Linked DNA regions of Homo sapiens: all the other regions are linked to region 4. The links are contacts of gene promoters, found by promoter capture Hi-C in blood cells and fetal thymus (Javierre and others, 2016). All regions are on one chromosome and are shown on one strand. Each heading gives the region's core, a stretch centred on a gene start or on the middle of the fragment in contact. The rest is flanking DNA. Distances are from core to core; before and after follow the strand shown.

Region 1 (5,904 bases), core at 1,769-4,268, 770 kb after region 4:
CAAATAAAGCCACATATCTACAGCCAAGTGATCTTTAATAAAGTTAACAAAAACATACACTGGAGAAAGGACACCCTCTTTAGTAAATGGTGTGGGAAAATTGGATAGCCATAGGCAGAAGAATTAAACTGGACCCCTATCTCTCACTATATACAAAAGTTAACTAAAGGTTAATTAAAAACTTAAAGGGAAGACCTGAAATTTAAAAAAAGCCTAGAAGAAAACCTAGAAAAAACTCTTCTGGGTGTTGGTCTAGGCAAAGAATTTATGACTAATTCTCAAAAACAATTACAACAAAAACAAAAATAGATAAATAGGATTTAATTAAAAAGATTCTGCACAGCAAAATAAACAATCAACAGAGTAAATAGAAAACCTACAGAATGGGAGAAAATATTTGTGAACTATGCATCTGACAAGAGCTAATATCCAGAACTTATAAGAAACTCAATTAGCTTAACAATAACAACAACCAAATAATCCAATTAAAAAGTGGACAAAAAAACATGAATAGACATTTTTCAAAAGAAGGCATATAAGCGGCCAACAAAAATATGAAAACATGCTCAAAATCAGAGAAATGCAAATTAAAACTACAATGAGGTACCATCTTACACCAGTCAGAATGTCTGTTACAAAAAAGTCAAAAAACAACAGATGTTAGCAAGGATGTGGAGAGAAGGGAATGCTTATATGTTGTTGGTGGGAATGTAAATTAGTACAACCTCTATGGAAAACAGTATGGAGATTTCTCAAACAACTAAAAATAGAATCACTATTTGATCCAGCAATCCCACTACTGGTATTCTTTTGGATCCCAAAAAGAAATCATTATGTTGGCGAGGCACGGTGGCTCATGCCTGTAATCCCAGCACTTTGGGAGGCCGTGGCAGGCAAATTACTTGATGTCAGGAGTTCAAGATCAGCCTGGTCAACATGATGAAACCCTATCTGTACTAAAAATACAAAAATTTGCCAGGTATGGTGGCAGGAGCCTGTAATTCCAGCTACTCAGGAGGCTGAGGCAGGATAATCGCTTGAACCTGGAAGGCGGAGGTTGCAGTCAGCCGAGATCATGCCACTGAACTCCAGCCTGGGTGACATCTCAAAAAAAAAAAAAATGAAAAGAAAAAAAAAGAAATCATTATATAGAAAAGTACCTGCACTTTTATGTTTATCACAGCACTATTCACAATAGCAAAGTCATATTTATATATATACACTCAGCCATAGAAAAGAATATATATACATATATATAAGTATACTTATATATACTTATATATGTGTGTATATATATATATATATATACACACTATCTATCTATCTGTCTGTCTGTCTGTCTATCTATCTATCTATCTATCTATCTATCTATCTATCTATCTATAGCACTCCACCATAGAAAAGGATAAAATCATGTCCTTTACAGCAACAGAACTGGAGGCGATTATTTTAGGTGAAATAACCCAGAAACAGACAGCCAAATAATGTATGTTGTCACTTATAAGTAGGAGCTAAATAATGGGTGCACATGAACATACAAGGGGGAAAAATTAGACACTGAAGACTCCAAAAGGTGGGAAGATGAGAGGGAGACAAGAATTAAAAAAATACATCTTGGGTACAGTGTTTGCTGTTAAGAGGATGGATACACTAAAAGCCCAGACTTCACCACTAAACAATATACCTGTGTAAGAAAATTGCACTTGTACTCCCTAAATCTATTTTTTTTTTAAAAAAAAAAAAAGCATTCTTATGTTCTCCTCAGTAGAATTCAAACACTGAGAAGAGATACCTCTTGAGCTATGTAAAATGTTAAATAAATTTCCTTAGACCATGAGCGTCAGGGACTCAAAAGGAAAATGTTTGTGTGTGTGTGTGTACATGTGTACACCCATGTGTGGATTCTCTGCCTGATTCCTTTTTAAGGAAGAATGAAAATGACAAAAGGGGGAACTCTGCCGCTGTTTCAACTATTTTTTTCCCACTATTTTAACTGTAAAATCAGCATGCATTTTATTAAATCTTGCTTAAATGGAAATGGTGAGATTCTAATATTGAATGTGAAATGAGATGAAGATCTGCTCTGGGAGTTGAGTATTATAAAAAGTAAATTTTCAGGACTCTAGGCCAAGTTTTTATTCTGCTTTTAAAAAAATAATCTTCAAATAAAAAACTTTTCTTAGTTTTAAAAATAGCATTATGATATTTAAGAATACTTAGTTCTTCAGTGGTGTGTTTGAAGCAAGGTCTCAAAAGCTTTAGAAGAAACTGGTGGATATCTTATTGAACTCTGAAAAGAGGAAATATTATAATCTTTTAAAAAGAGAATTTTTTTAATCCTTTACCAAAGAAAGATGACATTCTCAGTTGTAAATGAGTATAGATTTTATTTCTAAGTAGAATACTCCTCTCCTCCCATTCCTTTCTTTTCCCCTTGCCTTTCCCAGGTCTACCTTCCAACTGAACCCATTAATGAAAGAAAGGCCAGGCTTGGGGTTGTCTAAAAAAAAATTATCAGGGACATCATTCATTCACTCTCAGTACTCTGTTACAAGTCTTGAAACTCCTGTGCCTGGTTACCAGCAAAAATCCCATTCCAACTGGAGAGAAATCTGTCCTGTCGCATCTATGAGAGCAGTGTTTTTGAGACCAAGTTTGAATGCATTCTAATTAAGTGATTTTTAGTAACTGTGGACTTTAAAATAAAAGTGACCATTGACATTATACTTGGTGGTCAAGTCATATGGTTTCCTGTAGCTGGAGAAAATCTAATTCTGTGCACTAAATACATCTACAACTCTTCTGCACATAGAACTGTCATTGGCTTACCATCTCTAGGGAAAGGATTTAGGGATTTTATATTTTCAAGCAAAGAATTAATTTATACTGATTTCAGCCCAGTTTTGGTTGGTTCTCCTTGGCCAGCAACTGTTGGTATACAGTTTGTGATCGTAGGTTAGAGACCCAAAAGCAGTTTTTTGCTATGGAACTTAAGGAAATATCATAGCTGGTTTAGATGATGAACAGCTTAGCAAGACACAATGTATCATATTGGTATAGGTGAGATCTGGTTAAAGTTCATAACGCAGCTAGACAAGAGGAGATTCTAGCTCTGGCTGACCCACATTGCTTTGATTATTGCTGAAGAGACAGACTAGAAAATTTGGGGTCTGATGTTAATGATACTTGATTTAGATCTGTAATAGGTGCCAGTTTCAAAAATGGACACATCCAATAACTTTCTTTGTCTCTTGGTCCATCCAAAATGGATGAATGTAATAATAAAATCATTGTAGGGGAGAAAAACTAAGTGATTAAAATAATCTAAGGAGAATCAATAAAATAATTTACATTAATCCCAATTTAAATTGCATTAATCTTCCTCTTAGCCATTCCATCTTTTGGTAAGAAGACACTACCTTTTGAAAAAGGACATGAGCTAATGAGCTGGAATGGCCCCTTGGTGAATACATCTACTGAAACTTATTCTTTACACTCATCTGCCACATGGTATCTGTTGCTACACTGGCAATAAATCCCCGGGGCTAGAGGATGAAAAACTCAGGGGGGTCTGGCAAAGTCTGGAATCAGAAATAGACCATCTGCCTCATGGAGAAATTGACAGGAATCTCAGAACAGATGCATGCACCTCTTCACCATGAGGCAGATGGATAAGGAGAGCAAATAGGACCCAAAGCTGATTCTGGGAGACAAATAAGTAAAAGGCATGGGAGAAGCCTGGTTCTGAGGATCAAGTACAAATTCATCAGTCCAAGCTTCAAAGACTTTCATAGGATGGCTCCACTCTGGCTTTTTACTCCTATCCTTCACTACTCTCCCCAAACATCATTCCAGCCAGAATTACTGATTTAGCATCATCCAGACATGACTTTTATATCCATGACATCTCTGCCTCTTTTTTGGCAATGCATATCCTACCCGTCCTTAAAGGCTCTTTTCTCTGTGAAATCTTCCCTTACACAGCTCATATGGTCTCTTTCCTTCATTAATGTTCAGCATATATTGTGTATGCCTCTCATTTTACAACGACATTGAATTGTGCTTGGGATAAAAGTTTAGTTTTTTTTTTTTTAACTGGTGAACTGTAAGATGTTATCTAACTAAACCCTATTTCTCTAATTCATCCTGAGTAAAACCGCATGGCCATACACCAGCTACATTTAGTTTCTAGAGGTATGGAACATGTTATGTTTCTTTCCACCTCATAACTTTGGCACAAGACTCTACTTGAGTATCAAGGAGAGAAAAGATCATTAGAATAATGTGATGGAGGAAACACAAAGAGGTCAGGGAAGGCTGCATCTCAGGCAAAGCTGATAGCAAGAGTGACTTAGGGATAAAGAAGATGTGGGAAGAGTACTTTTGGGGGCAATGAGCAGAAGAACATGGTGGAGAGCCAAGAGTTTCCAGGTGCTAAAGGGAGAGCAGTTAATTAAGGTTTTGCTAATTGATAATTGACTTCCTTAATAATCCTGATGATCAGACATAGCATTTGCTTGAAGACAAACAGCTGGAAGCAACAAGGTAGAAAGGGAGAGGGAACCATATTGATTGTGATGGGCCTGGGATACGTTTTGTTTCCTGGTATTCAAAATGAAGGTGCGCAAGTTTCCTTCAGTGTCTATTTTCTCGAGTTATTGTATTCTATAGCTGAAGAATATACCCAGTATAAGTGGAAAAACACAATCATACCCAAGAAAGGTTAAGAAAGCCAGAATTAAAACCTGGGGCTTTCCCAGCTTTGGCCACATAATGAAATCCTGTCTCTACCAAAAAAAAAAAAAAAATCAGCTGGGTATGGTGGGGCAAGCCTATAGTCCCAGCTACTTGGGAGGCTGAAGTGGGAGTATTGCTTGAGCCCTGGAGTTCGAGGCTGCAGTGAGCCATGATCATGCCACTGCACTCCAACCTGGACAACAGGTCAAGACTCTGTCTCTAAAAAGAAAATAAATTAATTAATTAAATAAAATAATAATAAAAAAACTGAGGTATTCTATATGTTTTATTCAGAGACTCAATATCATTCAGTAGAAGCTCAACTAGAAACAAGATTAGTATATGCCAAGTGGTTAGACCCTAGTCTCTCGTTTTAAAATGAGTATCTCCTAGAATTGACACACACACACATACACAGACACACACACACACACACACACACATATATTTTGAACACGTTAATTATTAACTTCTCAAGTAATATTTGTTGACTCTATGTATAACCATATGCTATCAGGTTTCACCAGCCTGTGGATAGGAATAAGATTGCATTGGGATTTATACTACCTTGCATTGGAATTTCAGTCAGTGTCTCAACATTCTTCTATTGCTTCTGTGAGATCTTGGCACTCTCCACATTTCCCCAACTCCACAAGTTTCTGTGGTCCCAGAGGTGTTTCACTTATGTTTCTATATGAGGAAAAGCCTGCTGGGCATGGCTGCTCTAGTCAGATGTGAGCTGAACCCCTCTGACACCTGCTGTCATGTTCTCTAGAGTTCTGTGTCTTTGGTTTGCAAAAATAACCTGGAGAAATTATAAAAGAACATGAAGAAATAGAAGCCTAAGGTGTCCTCAAGTCAGCTGCCTAATCTCAGGTTAACCTTAATTCATACTCCTGTTCTATATGTTTACCATTAGATTTCAAAGAAATAAAAAATTTGAATAGAGAACAAAACTTTCTTGGAACACCCAATTTGAAATTTTTTTTTTGTGACACACCTCAGAAAGTATGTCCACCACCTTTGCAGCTCAGTTATGAGCATTTCTAGTCATCCAAAGCCTCCATTAATAGGACATATGTTCCATGAAATTATATGTAAACTTCAGAACAACAGAATTATGGGGTCCATCCCATTCTTCACCAGTGATTTTGTAACATTACTGTT
Region 2 (6,069 bases), core at 1,229-3,728, 550 kb after region 4:
TCATAGGTATTTGGCTTCATTTATTTTCTGGACTTAAAATCTATTAATGACATACTCTAAATTCAAACAACTGCAGGAAAGAAATGCTTTCCACTTTCAGATTTTTAAAATGTGTTTTAGTAGATTATCTCATTTTCTGTTGTGGGAATAACATGTGTTTCGGAGTTGTAATTATGTATAATTTTGTCAATTTCCATGTTTTATGCAGTATTGTGCCCTAAATATCTAATACAAGTGTAATATGAATGATTAATTCATTAATGTTTCATACTAGCACAAGACAGCACTTTGCCGACGTCTTTGCCATGACAGTAGGTGAACCTTTATTGTAGATTTTAACAGGGGTCAAAACTACACCCTGCAGGCCTGATTGGGTCCACTGTCTGATTTTTCTAAAGTTTCCCAAGTTTTATTGGAACACAGCCATGCTTATTCCATCACATATTTTCTGTGGCTGCTTTCACAGAATAATGGCAGATTTGAGTAGACCATATGGTCCACAAAGCCTAAAATATTTACTATCTGGTCCTCTACAGCAAAAGTTTGCCAAGCCCTAGATTATAACATCGTGACTCAGGAAATGCTGTATTTTAATCTTTCTTTGCCTATTCCCAAACCCAGGAAGGACTTGAAGTTTTCATAAGTAGAGTTGATAAAACTCTAGCAGTTGGTGCAAAGTGATGAGAAAAGCACAGCCAGTGAAGACAGAAAGGCTTGTCTTGAGTCTTGGTTTAACTCTTCTTTACCTATGCTGCCTTACACAAACTATTCATTCTTGCTAAGCCTCAGCTTTCTTATTGGTGACACATATATATATATGTCATCAATATATATGTATGAATATATATATATGCCATATATGTCACCATATATGTGAATATATATTCACAAATAAGAGAGATTATTTTCAATAACATATTTAAAGTCAATACTATTATTTTTGTAGCTAAAACATTTCTTATTTCTATTCTAAGACATAATAGCTTATTTTAGAGTTGCCTTGGTTCAGATTAGTGACTGATTTTTCAATCATGTTTTGGTGACATCTTAAGTAATCTCTGGGAATCTCAAAGCTGGCTGTATAGTTTTCTTTCCTAAGTAATTACAATTCAATTTGATAGTATCCTATGTTACTATATGATCAGTTAAAAAAAGTATTTCCGGCCGAGTGGGCGGATGACGAGGTCAGGAGATTGAGACCATCCTGGCTAACATGGTGAAACCCCGTCTCTACTAAAAATACAAAAAATTAGCCGGGTGTGGTGGCAGGAGCCTGTAGTCCCAGCTACTCGGGAGGCTGAGGCAGGAGAATGGCGTGAACCCGGGAGGCGGAGCTTGCAGTGAGCCGAGATCTCACCACTGCATTCCAGCCTGGGCAACAGAGCGCGACTCTGTCTCAAAAAAAAAAAAAAAAAAGTATTTCCAAGAACACATTGAAAACAATAAAAATTTGTGGAAAGCATTATGTTAGACCCTGAGCATATAAAGATAAGTAAGACTTTGATGTAAAGAAGTTCTAAACTGGGACGCAGAAGCTGAAACAGGGACATATGATTAACACACAAGGAATTGGACAGTGGTACAAGGAAGACACTAATGAAATTCTTAGAGTAGAATGTACTGACAATATGGTAGGTATCAGATGTAATATGAAAAATCAAACAAAGACTTTATGGAAGTAAAGAAATTCGAGATGCGCTAAGAGAAGGGAAAGCAGAACATTCCATGGGAAGGGGATACTAGGGAAGAAACCGAGAAATAGGGAGGAAGCATAGGGGTGTTCTGATAACAGGGAGGGATGTTTTGACTGTGGCATCCATACGTGTATAATACTGGAAGAGAACACTAGGGCCAATGCACTTGAGAGCCATTAAGCCAGAACATATTGCAATTATCAGTGTGAGTTCCAATAAAGGCTTAATTTGTGTGATGACACTGGAAATGAGAAAAATCATTTTAAGAGTTGATGCAACTTTTTCTGAGTGCCTACAGATGTTTGTATATTCTCTCTTTCATCTGGTCCTCATAACCTTCCTGCAGTAAGTAGTAAATTATAATTCTATAATTTAGAATTATAAAGAAAAACTGGCTTAAGAGGAGAAGAGGATATATTTGACTTAGATCTTGTGGCATTTGAAGGCATGATGAGTGATCCAGTGGACCGTGCTTAGAAGAAAGTTGGAAATTCATCTGCAGGGTCAGATGGCCCATGCAGAAACCCTTCTTCTTCTCTACAAGACTAGTAAGCTTTATTGGCGTCCCTGTGCTGCCCCCTTTCTTCCCATGTCCTTCTGGGCTGTTTCAATTGCTTGATTGTCCTTCCACTGACTGAGGGGCCACAGAGCTTTAGAAAAAAGAGAAATAAGGAACAGAATGGTAATGGCATCTTCTAGGGCCATGAGCTTCTATCTTCATCTCCCTTTTGGAGTTCGGGGAGAGTGTTTTGGATTTTATGTGAACCTGACTGTACTTTCCTTGGACAGCCTTGGACTTGGGATTGATGGGCAGGAGCCAAGTTCTGAATCCTGCTGTCTTGATGTTATCAGGGGTTTGTTATTTTTTTGGTTTCAAGACATACCAGAAGAACCTGGGGGTACCTGTGAAAATACTTGGGGAAGTAGAATTTAAGCACTGGACATATGGTAAGTAAATATAGACAATTTTTCTTAAAAATAAAATAAATGAATTGATCACACAGTGGAAAGCTTCCTGATTTATTCTACAATGTAAGGGTGGACACCTAATAGCTTAGCAGTCCTTTGAATATTTTGCTGTGCAAATCTTCTTGGACGAAGTATTTATTCCATGGAGAAGAACATTTGATCAAGAGCTGAGAGATACAGGTTTCTTTTCTAACCTGGCTCTAAGGCAAACTAGATGAGTAATTATTCATAAGTTCATTTTCTGTAAAATGTGACCAAGTACCCTGAGTTGCTAAAAAAAAAAAAAAAAAAAAAGCAAATGTTATAATAAACACTAAAGTACACTCTGAAGAAGCTCTACAGAGGAGGAGCTTGTCTTCCCTTTGTTTTGACATCTCCTTACATTCTTTTACTCTCCTAATCTCTTTCATTTCTGTTTCCCTTTTTTGGTCTCTCAAACCTCTGCCAGTTCTTCCAATCATGAGCCAAGAAGTAAACTTAGCAAAATATATTCTTCCATCATCACTGCCTCTCAACTGCCTGAAAGGGTCAAAAGTGATATGACAACAATGTGCTTTTGAACCTGCAAAGTTCTTTAAATAAAAGGCAAAATCCTAATATAATCCTACAGCATTGACATAGGAGAAAATTACTATAATTATGCAAATTAAAATAAGTCAACAAGTTTCAGAACACAATGCACGATAAGTAATGTTTTTAAAAATAACAGTAACTGAGCCTGGTCATTTGCACTTAATAATAGGCTCAGGAGGGAGCCTAGTGTCTGAGAAGAAACAGCCGTGGTAATAGATATATTGTGGTTTTGATAGGTTCTCTCCTGTAGTTTTATTTCTGTATTTGCTTTAGATTATAGAAAGCTCCCAGAGTGCCCTGCTATTGAAATTCCCATCATTCCCAGGGCTTTAATTAAGTCATTGGATTTGACAGAACTTGAATTGAGGAGGCCTACCACTATGTCAGTTTATGCCAGGGTGATATTATCAGGGCCCTGGCAACTATGTGCTCAGGCTTTAACTTACGTATGGAGCTGTCTCGCTGTGAAACATAAGGCACACATGCCTCCATGTGATTTTAAAAGGCATTGAATATGGTCTACTATGGCAGTAAGGTCTTCAAAAAATCCAGAAGACAGGATGATACAAAGTGGATATTTTGGCATCATGGAGCAATGAGCTTTGAAATCAGAAGCACCCAGCCTTAAATCTCATACCTACCATTCATTAGTGGGGTCATCTCAGGAAGTGATCCAAATTTTCAGAGCCATGAATTTCTGTTTTGAAAAATGAGAATAATCCCAGCTATCATGGGAGTAATGTGAAAGTTAAATGTTAAAAGGTCAATAAGCCCTGAGCCTAGCAGGTATGTGGTAGGAGTTTAATAAATATTATTTCCTTTTTATTCACCTAATTTGAAATTAATCATTGCTTGTAGGAGTAGTCTTCCATTTCTTTCCACCTGTGAATCTTTGAGATATAGGTGTTATTTCTTGGTTTTAGAACAAATTTGGCCCTGAGAGCCCAAGGTCAAGGTTGGCTAGGGTTGTAACCATTTTCATTTAATTTTAGAAACAAATAAAATGCCATTTGCAGCATGTTGGCATTGTGGCTTCCCTCTCATGGCTCCATCCATCCCACATATACCTCGCTGAATAACAGGTGTCAGTGTTTTACCCCAGCAAAGCTGGAAGCAGCTGTAGCAACGTGCTAGTAGAATGGCAAATGTTGATCATGTATAGTGATTTGCGGTTTTTCTCTTTCTTTATGAAGCCTCTTGATGCAAACCAGCACCCATTTCCAGAGAAACAGGAAACACACCCATTTCACAATGAGTAATAGAACTTACTTTAGTCCAAACCAAATCTAAGACTAAAGTTTGGGTATACAGAAAGTGTTTGATTTAGCACATGTTGTTCACAGCACAAGCACTTTAAGATCAAAAGTTTCATTTCTTTCATATGTGTTACTTTTTTCTATGCAAGCACAAGACTTTTCCATGTGTTTCATTATTGTTCGGGGAAAAAAAATTAACATGCTGGATCAATGGAAACATTTGTCTACTAATAAGAAAATTAGAAAAGGAGTGAATAGGTCAGGCCTAGTTGGGCTATACACCCTCTACAAAGCCAGCAGACAAAGTTGCTCCCTTTCAGCCCCTAAGAAGAGTATCCAACCTTGTTGAACATTAAGCTTCTTCCTAGTATTTATTCATCTGGATAGAGGTACAATATCCTGACAGGTTAGAGCCAGTCCTGGCCAAAATTGGGATATAGAAAAGCTTGATCCTCTCAGGGTACTTTTCTCACATTGTGGCTTTCCTTTCTTTTTCCTGGCTACCCGGTCATGGAATTCTCTCCTTAGCAGGACCTGGACTCCTATTTTTCCTCTATCTTCCTCCTCTTATAAAAGTCTGATATCCGTCGTCATCAATGTTAATGACTGCCAAACTTCTTCTAGAGATATTTATATATGAACAGAGATAATTCTTTGAACATATTTCCTAAAGTTGGATCTTAAGTAACAAATATATGTGAATAAAATGTTTTTGGGCAGAGACCCACCCTTTCTCCATTATTCAAATTATATCACATGAAATAATAAGATGCCACAGAAAAATGGGGACAGGAGCTAGTTCTTTTATGAACTTGCACTTAAATTGCGTCATGTTAAACTATGATGTATGTTCAGTTAAAAGATCATTAAAGTAGATCCTAAAGTGCATGATGTATTAGCTTATGGTAGAACAACACTCCCACTGAGAACAATAGAAAAATGGGACAAAATATAAAAAGGATGTATTTGAAGAATTTGGTGAACAGTTGAGGTAACTTAGGGGCCAAGTTACTAGAAAAGAAGGTAATTATTGAGAGATGAGTTGATATTTTGTGAGCTGCTTTCCTTCCAGAGATATTTATCATTCTTGGCCAGTGGAGAGAGTCTAAAAATCCTAGAGGGGTTTGCAGCTAAGAGGCAGAGAAGCCAGCAGAACTTCTGATAAATCCACAATGCAAAGAAAACAATTAAAGCTCAGGGTTATGAAGGCTCCTAGGACTTGAGAGACCAAGATGCTGGAGAGAGGGGAGATGCTCGAGGGGCCAAGATGCTAGAGATACCCAACCTTTACAGATCTTCCCTTGAGTTTTTGTGGAATTCTTAAGTTGGGCAGAGGAGGAAGTTAAGAAGCAAACCAGAAAGTCACACTCTGACAAGCGAGTGGGGCATCTTTGGGCACTCTCATGGAGATAAAGAGACAAATAATTGGAGTCATGACCTATTAAGCAGAAAGAGCTTACCAGTCTCTCAGTAAGGACTCCTGGAGGGTTCACATCGGAGGGGTGATCCAGAGTTGGATGAAGGTTTACCAAAATGTAGCCTAGCCATGATCTACTTAAGTCTCTACTGGATTGTGG
Region 3 (5,833 bases), core at 1,783-4,282, 560 kb after region 4:
AACTTCTCTTTGCCATTCTCACTGGGATTTTCTTTCTGTCTGCCTATTCTCGACTGCTCAGGACACTTGGAGTATTTGCATGCCTTCCAAATGCAGGCAACTTTTCAGGATATCTGTGAAATCGTATTGAGAGGGTAAAAAAGCCAATTCCCTGATGTCAATTTCTCAGGGGCAGCCTTCCTTCTAGAAGGCTCAGAGTTTAGAGTTACACAGTCTATTCTTAGGAAGTAAAACACTTTATTGTTCTGCAATGTTGTTATCAATCTTCAAGCTCAATTACCATGGTTATGTATTGAGTATTGGGGTTATGACTGATTCTCTGTTCCAGTAGTACTAACTAGTACTATAACTATTTGCCAAGAAGATTTAGGGCAATACCATAATGACAGCTGAGAGACTATTGGCTAGACCTTCATAAAACTTATTTTCAGAGGAGCCACCTATTAGAAAACATCATTGTCATGCTGGACACCATCAGATAGTACTCTAAGATCCAACTTGATTAACTTTATGTAGAAGTCAAGAAGCTATTTACAACAAAGCATTAATTAGAACAGTTTATTCAAACGATAATACCTAGAGGTTGAGTATTCATTAGGAAAAGTTGGGTTTTAAAATGTGCTTCACAACAGGCTAGTCAAATTAAGTAACATTTCTTATTGCTTATGGGGGGCTTACTTCAAAGAAAATGTAGAATTAAATATACTGTCAATAAGCAAACACAATGCTAAAGAATATGGGAGCTACACATTCACAAGATCCTATTTTAATCACAAATTATATTTTAGGGCCAAATTAACACAGGACTAAATCAAATATTTGTTCTTCTGTGAAATTTTTATCCATCTACTTTGGTAGGTCCAGTCAATCCTTCCTCCAAAAGTAATTTGTTCATACTTTATAGCACTGATATTCAATTATTATTATTATTATTAATAGTAATAGCAGCAGTTAGTTGGCAGGTCCTATCCTTTATTACCCTATATATCCTCATGGTTCAGTTCAATGCTAAGCATATGGTAATTTCTCTTCAAATATTTGTTGTAATGAATTCCTGCATGCATCCATGTATTCATAAATCAATGAATGCCCCAGTTCCAGTGAAGACTGAATATGGTTTCTCCCACATCATGAGTGGAGTAGATCACTAGTCCTATTGAAATGGGAGAATCATGACCTTCCCATGACAATGATTTTAGATTTTATTGGTGAAAGGAATGTAGCCTGATGTTATTTCATAGTATCCAGCTTTCTGAAAGAGGGATACAAACTAAAGATTAAATTTTAAAGTATCAGGAAAAAAGTGTTAAGGTAAGAAATTATAAAGTAGCATAAAATGTTAAATGGACATAAGCACAAAAATTTGATCTTCTTTTAGATGTAATTATTTAATTTAAAAAGCACAGCAAATTGAAGATTTTTTTCTTTTTCTCCCTCGGGTCTGTTGCTTTCTATGGGCAAAAGTCAGCTGTTGCATGGGAAATCCAAACTCTAAAGATCATCCAGTGCAGGGTCAGGATGTGTATTTACTTACCCTTACATTGCCAGTACTCAACACAGAAGTAAGAGTATATTAGGCTCTTAATAATATTTGTTGAATGAATGGATAAGTAAATGAAACATGTTAATTTGACTGTAGTTTTCTTATCAGCAGATTTATAAGCACAGAGCCAGTCTCTACTGAAAGTTAGTTACAATAACTTTCATAGTTTCACGCAGAACCTTGGTTTTCCAATCTTATGTTTTCCTTAAAGACTTATTATGTAGAAATGTGAATTCTCTTGGCAAAGGTTTCTACCACAAGAAATTGTTCTTGACTCCAGCTGCCTGGTGCTTAAGCTTAAAAGTTTTTTCAAATGGTTCCCTAGCACTTTGTCCACAGCACTACTGTAGCACTTTTCACACATAATTGCATTTATAAAAAGCCCTTGCCAAATTCAATTTCTCTTTCATGAAATTGTACATCTGTGAATTTACTTTTGTACACTTTTCCACAATCAGGAAAATCTTACTTTGATTAGATGCACACCTGTTGGGGATAATTTGAAAAAGAGGGAGTAAGGACTTGCGAATTTGAAAAGGCAAAAAAGAAGTAAAGCAGGTGGCAGAGCAGGAGAATGGTTTTTAAAATGCAGCTTTGGGAGAAATTAAGGTGGCTGAAGCAAAGTTAGAATTGCATCATATTGGCTGGAGGAAGGAGAGGTGAATGTGTTCTAGCCCCATAAGCAGAGCTAAAGTTCTGTGAGTGAGTATAAGGAAGCCCTAAGAGGTAACTTTTTGATATGCGTAGTAACTGAAATAAAAGTTGCCTAAGGCTTTTTCCAGCCAAGTTACTGTACTTCTTTAGGGTCACTGTGTGATTCAGGAGACAGGAGTCAAGGAGTCATTCACCTACCCAGAAAGCCTTGTAACTTATGTGGAGTATAATATGTATAGGGCAGGGCCGAGGCATATTGTCTACCATAAGGCATAATAAATACACAGGTATGTTGTTGAAAATGCTGGGGAGATGTTTTATTATGCTATTCTTTATTGTTTGGCTTTCAATAAAGAAAAAAACTATACTTATAAAAACTTTCATAGGTTAATCCACAACCTTGATGGGCCAGTCTTAACTTTCTCTTAAAAGCTTATTTATTTATACTTATTTTTGGAAATGTGAATTCTCCTGACACAGGGATTTTTGGAGCTGAACCCTTTTATTGGAGAGAAAATGTATGTTATGTAGCAGTGTACAAACTGCGTGAGTCACAGAGATGCCAAAATATTACTTTCTTTATGTTTCTGTAACTAGACAAATTTTTTTTATTTTACATTAAATTATAGGATGCATGTATACAATGTGCTTGTTTGTTACCTAGGTATACATGTGCCAGGGTAGTTTGCTGCACCTATCAACCCATCATCAAAGTTTTAAGCCCTGCATGCATTAGGTATTTGTCCTAAAGCTTTCCCTTCCCTTGCCCCCAACCCCGCAACAGGCCCTGGTGTGTGTTGTTCCCCTCCTTGTGTCCATGTGTTCTCATTGTTCAACTCCCAGTTATGACTGAGAACATGCAGTGTTTGGTTTTTTTGTTCCTGTGTTAGTATGCTGAAGATGATGTCTTCAAGCTTCATTGATGTCCCTTCTAAAAACGTAATTTCATTCTTTTTCATGGCTGCCTAGTATTCCATGGTGTATATGTACCACATTTTCTTTATCTAGTCTATCACTGATGGGCATTTGGGTTGGTTCCATGTCTTCGCTATTGTAAATAGTGTTGCAGTAAACATATGTGTGCATGTGTCTTTATAGTAGAAGGATTTATATTCCTTTGGTTGTATACCCAGTAATGGGATTGCTGGGTCAAATGGTATTTCTGGATCCAGATCCTTGAGGAATCACCACCTTGTCTTCCACAATGGTTCAACTGATTTACATTCCCACCAACAGTGTAAAAGCATTCCTATTTCTCCACAGCCTCACCAGCATCTATTGTTTCCTGACTTTTTAATAAATGCCATTCTGATTGGTGTGGGATGGTATTTCATTGCAGTTTTGATTTTCATTTTTCTAATGATCAGTGATGATGAACTTTTTTCATGTATTTGTTGGCCACATAAATGCCTTCTTTTGAGAAGTGTCTGTTCATGTACTTTGCCCACTTTTTGATGGGGTTCATTCTTTCTTGTAAATTTGTTTAAGTTCCTTGTAGATTCTGGATATTAGACCTTTGTCAGATGGGTAGATTGCAAAAATTTTCTCCCATTCTGTAGGGTGCCTGTTCATTCTGATGCTAGTTTATTTTGCTGTGCAGAAGCTCTTTAGTTGAATTAGATCTCACCTGGCAATTTTGGCTTTTGTTGCAATTCCTTTTTGTGTTTTCATCATGAAGTCTTTGCCCATGTCTATGTCCTGAGTGGTATTCCTTAGGTTTTCTTCTGGGGTTTTTAATAGTTTTGGGCTTGACATTTAAGTCTTTAATCCATCTTGAATTAATTTTTGTATAAGGTGTAAGAAAGGGGCCCAGTTTCAGTTTTCCACATATGGCTAGCCAGTTTCCCCAGCACCATTTATTAAATAGGGAATCCATTCCCCTTTGCTTGTTTTTGTCAGGTTTGTCCAAGATCAGATGGTTGTAGATGTGTGGTGTTATTTCTGAGGTCTCTGTTCTGTTCCATTGGTCTATATGCCTCTTTTAGTACCAGTAACATGCTGTTTTGGTTACTGTAGCCTTGTAGTATAGTTTGAAATCAGGTAGCGTGATGCCTCCAGCTTTGCTCTTTCTGCTTAGGATTGTCTTGGCTATATGGGCTCTTTTTCGGTTCCATATGAAATTTAAAGTAGTTTCTTTCTAATTCTGTGAAGAAAGTCAATGGTAGTTTGATGGAATAGCACTGAATCTATAAATTATGTTGGGTGTATGGCCATTTTCATGATGTTGATTCTTCCTATCCATGAGCATGGAATATTTTTCCATTTGTTTGTGTCCTCTCTTATTTCCTTGGGCAGTGGTTTGTAGTTCTTGAAGAGGTCCTTCATGTCTCTTGTAAGCTGTATTCCTAGGTATTTTATTTTCTTTGTGGCAGTTGTGAATGAGGGTTCATTCATGATTTGCCTCTCTGCTTGTCTAGTGTTGGTGTATAGGAATGCTTGTGATTTTTGCACATTGATTTTGTATCCTGAGTTTCCTGAAGTTGCTTATCAGCTTAAGGAGTTTTGGGCTGAGATGATAGGGTTTTCTAAATATACAATCGTGTCTTCTGCAAACAAAGACAATTTGACTTCCTCTCTTCCTATTTGAATGCATTTATTTCTTTCTCCTGCCTGATTGCCCTGGCCAGAACTTCCAATACTATGTTGAATAGGAGTGGTGAGAGAGGTTATCCTTGTCTTGTGCCAGTTTTCAAAGGGACTATTTCCACTTTTTGCCCATTCAGTATGATTTCGGCTATGGGTTTGTCATAAATAGCTCTTATTACTTTGAGATATGTTCCATAAATACCTAGTTTATTGAGAGTTTTTAACATGAAGCGATGTTGAATTTTTTTGAAGGCCTTTTCTGCATCATTTGTCAATAGATGCATCATGTAGTTTTTGTCATTGGTTCTGTTTATGTGATGGATTACGTTTATTGATTTGTGTATGTTGAACCAGCCTGGCATCCCAGGGATGAAGCCGACTTGATCGTGGTGGATAAGCTTTTTAATGTGCTGCTGGATTTGGCTTGCCAGTATTTTATTGAGAATTTTTTTTTCTTTTATTATTATACTTTAAGTTTTAGGGTACGTGTGCACATTGTGCAGGTTAGTTACATATGTATACATGTGCCATGCTGGTGTGCTGCAGAGAATTTTTGCATCATTGTTTATCAGGGATATTGGCCTGAAGTGTTCTTTTTTTTTGTTACGTCTCTTCCAGGTTGTGGTATCAGGATGATGCTGGCCTCCAAGAATGAGTTAGGGAGGAGTCTCTCCTTTTCAATTGTTTGGAATAGTTTCAGAAAAAAATGGCAACAGCTCCTCTTTGTACCTCTGGTAGAATTCAGCTGTTAACTAGACAATTTTCATCTTGAGCCCCCTTTTCAGTCTGAAGCAGAAAACTTCATTTAGCTACTTACAGTTTTAGTGGTTTCTCAGTGATGTTGATTTTAAATACAGTCAAATTGAAGACTTCTTCCCCTCTGATTTCTCTTGGGGCTAATGTAAATCATAAACATACGCCAAGATGTAGTGTTTTTGGAGATGGCATTCACTCCCCCATATTGATCTACCCTACGCTGACTCTGAGATCATAATCCTGTCAAACGCTTTTGTTGTCTGCATGTCTGGCATTTAAGAACACTCTAAACTG
Region 4 (5,935 bases), core at 1,009-3,508:
TGGATTAAGGTCTTTATGATTATTTCAATTATCTTCAACAGAATCACATATTTTAGTTCAACTGGGAATGTTCATCTTAAAAAGCCTATGCAACAACATAATATTAGTTTAATATAAGTGGAATATCTATATGCCCTACAGCAACAAAATCACTTTATTTCAAAATTATAGCTATTAACCTCCTGGCCCACTGAAAATAATCCTGGCCCAATGAAAATAATCCCACAAGAAACTAATGCTCAATTATTTTTACTACCAAACCAAGCAGAAGAAGCTGTAAGATCTGTAGCGACAGCCTGCTTTTCAAGAAGTAATACCTTGAGACTGCTCAAGAATAACCTCCTTCATCAATTAGTGTGACTCAGGTGGGTTTGAGAGGGAATAATGTCCACAATTCCTTGGTCAGTGGCCATGATGCCCCTCCTCCTCAAGGGCAAGAGATCAGAACAAGGGATTTGAACAAGAGGAGTTCACCAGCCACAACATATAGAAGCAGAGGAAAAAAGAGTACTACTGGAAAGATAAAAACTACATGGTTAAGTCATGTCACAAAAGCAAGAGGTTTAATGTTATCAAGGCCTTCATTCATTTCAGACACACCATTGTTTAGCTTCCTTCCCAAACCGTGCACAAAAAGAACTGTCAGCCTGCCTTAAGCATGTTCCTTCTTCCATTTAAACAGACATGATTCTTTTGGTTAATCTCTGGCAATGATCGCCATTTCACAACACATTCAGCCCACCCGGAACTGATCAATACCACTACAGACATAAGACTAGACTTTATCCATTTATTAACCACAAGGAAATGTACCATTCAGCAAAATTCTATACATTACAAAAGATTATATTTAAAGGGGGGTGGGGAAGACGGACACAAACACACAAACACACACACACACACCCCACAGAGGTACACAAAGAAGACTACCACCCTTTAATTTTCCTGTGGCAAACGAGATAAAGACATGGCCATGAAACCTGTCAATTCGCCCCCGTTTCCAAGAGTCCCCCGTAATTCTATGCCACAAGCTTGTAACTGAATATTAAATTTTACAATAAATAGATCCAATGAGACTTATTTAAAATGTTTCATCTATTGAACTAACTCTCCTGTTATGTACATCTGCACACCTTTCAGCTAGATGCTGTATTTATTTATAGAATTTCAAATACAAAAGACTAGATAGTTTTTCCAACCACTGGTTGCAACCATAGAACGTCCTCACAAAATCAAAATTTCCAATATAAAATGGCCCGTTTATTCCCCCAACCTTGAGCTAAAACCTATTTTATGAGTGTACTATATTTAACAAAAACAATTTCACATGGGTTGTTCTAAACCGAAAACAATGCTTCAATACAAAGCGTTTAAAATAAGTATTCCGTAGGTAAGCAAAATCTATGCCCCAAAAGAGCACACAAATGGTGGTTGAACGCCAGCACATTACCAATACCAAGCGGCATACCTCTTCTGCACTGGGTTATAGTTAATACTCCAACAACAACTACAACTATTTTTAACACTGCTGGACGCTGAAGTTGAAGAAAACGTGAGGGGAGACCCAGATTAAATTGCTGATAGGATGTATTGTTTCCCACAGCCAAAATTAAGCAGCAACTGGCTTGATCTATGTCGTGATATTCACCGGTGAAGCACTAATTAAACGATGACAAAAAGCAACCCTTGTTTTGGAGGAGCCCACACTAAATACTCCTTTCAGATCTCAACCTTTGCATAAATTGTCACTTGTGGTATTTGCGGCTTAATTGCAACCCAACCAGCGCTGTCATCCAGTGTTATGGCCACAAAACATGACTTTCTCACTTCCACAACAACACAGCACTCACTCTTATCAGCTCGCCGACCCAACTCAAAAAGAGAAAAATGCATGGAGGTTTCCAGATCACAATCAGACCTGGGGGCGGGGGGGGGGGGCGGTGGCAGCCGAGGGGCGCAGGGAGTGGGCAACCTCCCCAGGCTCCACTGGACTCTCCGACTCAACACCAGCCGCGGCCCCCAGCAGCGGCCGCCGCGGCCGCAGGAGCAGCCCCACCGCGCCGCGCTCCCTGCACCTACCTGAAGAACAGGAGATAAGAAAGACGGCAAACGCCAACTTTGCAGCAGCTCCCATTTTCCCGAGGCGCCGGGGAATCCGGAGGAAGTTCTCGCTAGATATCCAGTTCCCTGGGTCTTCCTCGGAGACAAACCTCCTGGTGTAAAATCAACCGTCATAAAACATATTCGGAAGCCCAGACCAAAAAAAAAAAAAAAAAAAAAAAAAAACGCTCACTGGGTTAAAAAAAAAAAAGAAAAAAAAGAGCACAACGATAAAAAATAAAATGCACCACGGGGGAAAAACCGCCACACACACGCACAACACACAAAACCAAACAACGAAAAGCCAACAACAACAAAAGCGGGTTTAAATCACTGTCAAAATCACTGTCAGCTCCGCTCGCCTCTCCCGTCTCTCGGAACAAAACGCCAGGCTGAGGCGACGAAGAGGCGGCGGCGGCAGCGGCGTCCGCTGCCGCCCGGACAGTCTGGGAACTGACTGGGTCCGATGTCCGGACCGACCTTCAACCCAGACACCTAAAGTCCGAGGACCACTGGCGGCCGAGCTCGCGGCGGTGGCGGCGAGGCGGCTGCGGCGCGGGGAAGGGGCGGCGGGCGGCAGCGGCGGCGGCGGTGCAGGCGGCGGCCAAGTTCTGGTCCAGGCTCTGGCTCCAGCTCCGGGCTCCGGGCTCGGCCGCGTTTTCGGTCTCCTGGCCTCCGCCGGGCTCCGCCCCCCAAACTTCCGGTTCCGGCCCGAAGCTGGAAGCCAGGCGCAGCGGAGGAACGCTCGGCGGCAGCGGCGGCGGCGGCGGCGGCGGCAGCGGCGGCCGGGCGCAGCGCGCGTGCCGGGCCGGGAGCGCGAGGAGATTGTCGGGGAAGCGAGGCGGGAGCGGGGGAGGGGTGAGAGAGCGAGGGCGGGGCGGAGTGGAGGGCGAGGAGGCGGGGCGGACGGAGGCTCGATACCGCGAGGCCTCGGCGTCCGGCCTGCTTGGGCTAGAGATACCGCGACAAAGGGGCGCGGGCGCCTCAAAGTCCCTAAGCTGTGGCTGGGCTGTGGCCGGGCGAGTAGATGCGGGCTAGGCCGGGCACGACCCGTTTCCAAATCGCGTCCGACGGGCCTGTCTGGAGCGCCCACCCAAAGGGTCAGGAGAAGCCCAAGAGGAAGAGGACCCCGAGGTGGGGCGAGTGGCCAGGGACTTCTCCAAGGGGCGTCTGCGGCGCCCAGTCTTTCCTCTGGGGGGACGCCTCGTCCGCTCTGATACCGAGGAGTCGGTGGAAGGCGGACGTGGGAGCTGTTTCGCCGCGCCCGCCGAGCTGCCCAGGCGAGCTCGCGACGCGCGAGCTGGTGTGTGCGCCCCCAGACTTAGCACTGCGTCCCACCGCTGCAGCTTCTGCACACGCGTGCTGTCTTGGTGACTAGAAAAGAAAAAGAAAAAACTCACGGAGGAAGGGCTGTCCACCCGCTCAGGATATTCACGCCATTTATCACGATGCGCAACTTGAATCCATTCCCGCCGTTCCTTTTACACACAAAGCATTGTGTTGAAAACTGTTTTGCACGTAATAGGTGCGCAAATACTTGTTTACTGCGCTTTGAAGAAAAAAATGAGGATTTCGAACGACATATTTGATGATCAGACAAGTGATTACTTGTCAAAATTTTAGCTATTTAAGGGCCTGTTTTTACCCCTTAATCCATGTCGATTGCTTACAAGCTGGTGTGCTAGGCACGGAATGGGATCCAACAGGTAAAAATAGGATGGATCCCTACCTCAAGTAGCTTTTAGTATTTGCTGTATTCAGTTGGTTGCAGAATACAAACTAGAGACTATTGAAGGTAGTTGCTCTGTCATTTACCACACTTTAGTGAGCTTCGTGAAGGTAGAGATCTTGATTTTTTCCTTATTTTATTCCAGCACCCAGAAGTATCAACTAGCACATAAGTGCTTAATAAATAATTGTATAAATGACTAAGGGATGACTGCCTTTCTCTTAAATACAGTCTCTGTTAATGTACTCTACAAAGTTTTGGTTTTTAATAAAACAACTGTATAATATGGCTAATTCATGTTTCATTTGTGGTTTACTGATTCCCACCTTTTCCCACAAAGCCAAGTCTTCTCACTTATATTTACAGCAGTTTACTTCCTCTAAATTACTCTGTATTTCTGTCTATTAAGTTCATCCTGTAATTATCTGCCCATTTCTACAACTTATCAGGGTTATTAATAATCAACGTGGCTCTTTAAATCTCTCCAAGATTGCCAGTTCTCAAATCGTGATGCTCAGAATTTGACTGATGTTGGAACAGTTACAAAGTCCCAAGTCGGTATTAAAGGTGTCTGAATGATCTCATGTAGTTCTCCTATCTTTATGAGTTGGTCAAAGGAATATGTGTAAGCCTTCCATTTTCTGGTTGAATTAAGAGTTGTACTAACGGTTCTGGAATGGAAGAGTATATTTTACTCTAGAAACACTTGAAGTTCATTAGAGAATTTGATGTCAGTTAGGGTCAGGCCCCACTCTTGTCTTATCTGTGCATCACTTCAGTATTTCTTTAATTGTGAAGCCTGAGCAAGTGGAATAACTGGAATAGCGAGTAATACAACTGAAACTTGTAAATATATTCCTTATCTTACCAACTAAATTTGCCATTATAAGAACGAGAGCATGAAAATTATTTTTCTGTAGTACTAAAGAGAAGCAGCCAGTCTTCACGAGGACATTCCTTTCTAACAAAGACAGAAAACCCCATGGGAAAAGTATTAACAACCAGTAACGCAGCTATTCTGTTCCTAAATGTGTTCAATTACCCCTTCGTTTTTTTTTTTAATTCAAAAATAATGTAACCTAAAAAGACAAGGAATTGTGACTAATTTCCACCGGAGCTTCAAAGCTTAAAAAGAGGTAGCTACAGCTAACCCCATTGCCCTTCTTTCCTCCTTGTTTTCTAGAATCACTTTTTAAAATCCATAAATCCAACAACCACTTCCTAACACATTGCAAGGTGTAAAACCTGGTTTGGGAAGGAAAATGAGAAAGGAGAGGAAAGGAAAAGGAAACATGAATTCTAATCGACCAGAGCATCGGGCATTATGAGATAAACATCTTTAGCTAACTTCATTCACTTCCCAGCCCCAAGACCTAGCCTTATGGCCACTCCAATGCTAGAATTTGAAGTTCAGAGTCCTGCCAAGTTCAATTGAACTGAAAATTATTCCCAGGTGGAAGAATCTTGAGAAGCCAGTTCAATCTAGAGTGTTGGCTGGATGAGGAGGTAGAGGTAAATAAGTGACACAGACTGCTTCCAGAATAAAAGATTTCTTTTTGTGTTAACAAAGTCATGGCTCAAAAAGATGTGGAGAAGTTTAAATCTTCAGTTCTGAAGTAGAGCTGGAAATGAACTGGGTTATAATTGAACTTGCGTTTGGACCCACCAACAGACACTTCAGCAACACACGTCTAATCTCTTTTCCTTCATCTTCAGGAAGATGACTGAAAACCTTTGGAGTATGGAGGATGTTAAGTTCCCCTTAAATGAAGGACTTAGAAGCTTTCGTGCTGCTTTCTAGCTACTATAAAAATCTGTGTTCAGATGACATGGGCATTCTTGAAGTGGCACAAGTAACGAATTTCTTATATGCCAACGCTGTAAGGCATAATGCATGGGGAATAAATTTGGTAACTTGGTGAGTCCAAGGAAGGGAGAAATGATCGATGTATCTTTTATAAATATCCCCCTCTCCTTAAGTGCCCAAGGTGGGAAGAAAATTCTCTACATCCTAGCTTTTGCTGCTATTTATTCCTCCCCTTCTACTTAACGTCCATCTGTATAGCATTGCACTGTGCCAATGGGGTCAAAAAGACATATCGAGGA

What was found. The method cuts DNA at HindIII sites, captures the fragments that hold promoters and counts their contacts. A CHiCAGO score of 5 or more calls a contact.
Region 1: a fragment that was not itself captured here is called in contact with the fragment with the promoter of ACVR2A in region 4 in 1 of 17 cell types (M0 macrophages); the score reaches 6.2 in M0 macrophages.
Region 2: a fragment that was not itself captured here is called in contact with the fragment with the promoter of ACVR2A in region 4 in 6 of 17 cell types (non-activated CD4 T cells, naive CD8 T cells, naive CD4 T cells and 3 more); the score reaches 8.0 in non-activated CD4 T cells.
Region 3: a contact is called between a fragment that was not itself captured here and the fragment with the promoter of ACVR2A in region 4, in 2 of 17 cell types (non-activated CD4 T cells and total CD4 T cells). The highest score is 5.8, in non-activated CD4 T cells.

Annotation. Positions count from the first base shown.
Region 1 is chr2:147,067,624-147,073,527 of GRCh38, reverse strand. No RefSeq gene overlaps it. Among named protein-coding and RNA genes, the nearest start is that of LINC01911, 230 kb to the right of the region's middle. The HindIII fragment of the contact is 1,520 bases long and covers 2,259-3,778 here.
Region 2 is chr2:147,296,363-147,302,431 of GRCh38, reverse strand. No RefSeq gene overlaps it. Among named protein-coding and RNA genes, the nearest start is that of LINC01911, 460 kb to the right of the region's middle. RefSeq lists an enhancer at 4,649-4,758. The HindIII fragment of the contact is 458 bases long and covers 2,250-2,707 here.
Region 3 is chr2:147,280,837-147,286,669 of GRCh38, reverse strand. No RefSeq gene overlaps it. Among named protein-coding and RNA genes, the nearest start is that of LINC01911, 450 kb to the right of the region's middle. The HindIII fragment of the contact is 163 bases long and covers 2,951-3,113 here.
Region 4 is chr2:147,841,352-147,847,286 of GRCh38, reverse strand. It overlaps ACVR2A (activin A receptor type 2A), which reads right to left and starts at 2,258. Exons shown (of 11, transcript NM_001616.5): 1 at 2,080-2,258. The coding sequence starts at 2,134. RefSeq lists silencers at 1,817-1,896, 2,652-2,761, 2,842-3,031 and an enhancer at 3,158-3,908. The HindIII fragment of the contact is 3,923 bases long and covers 1,034-4,956 here.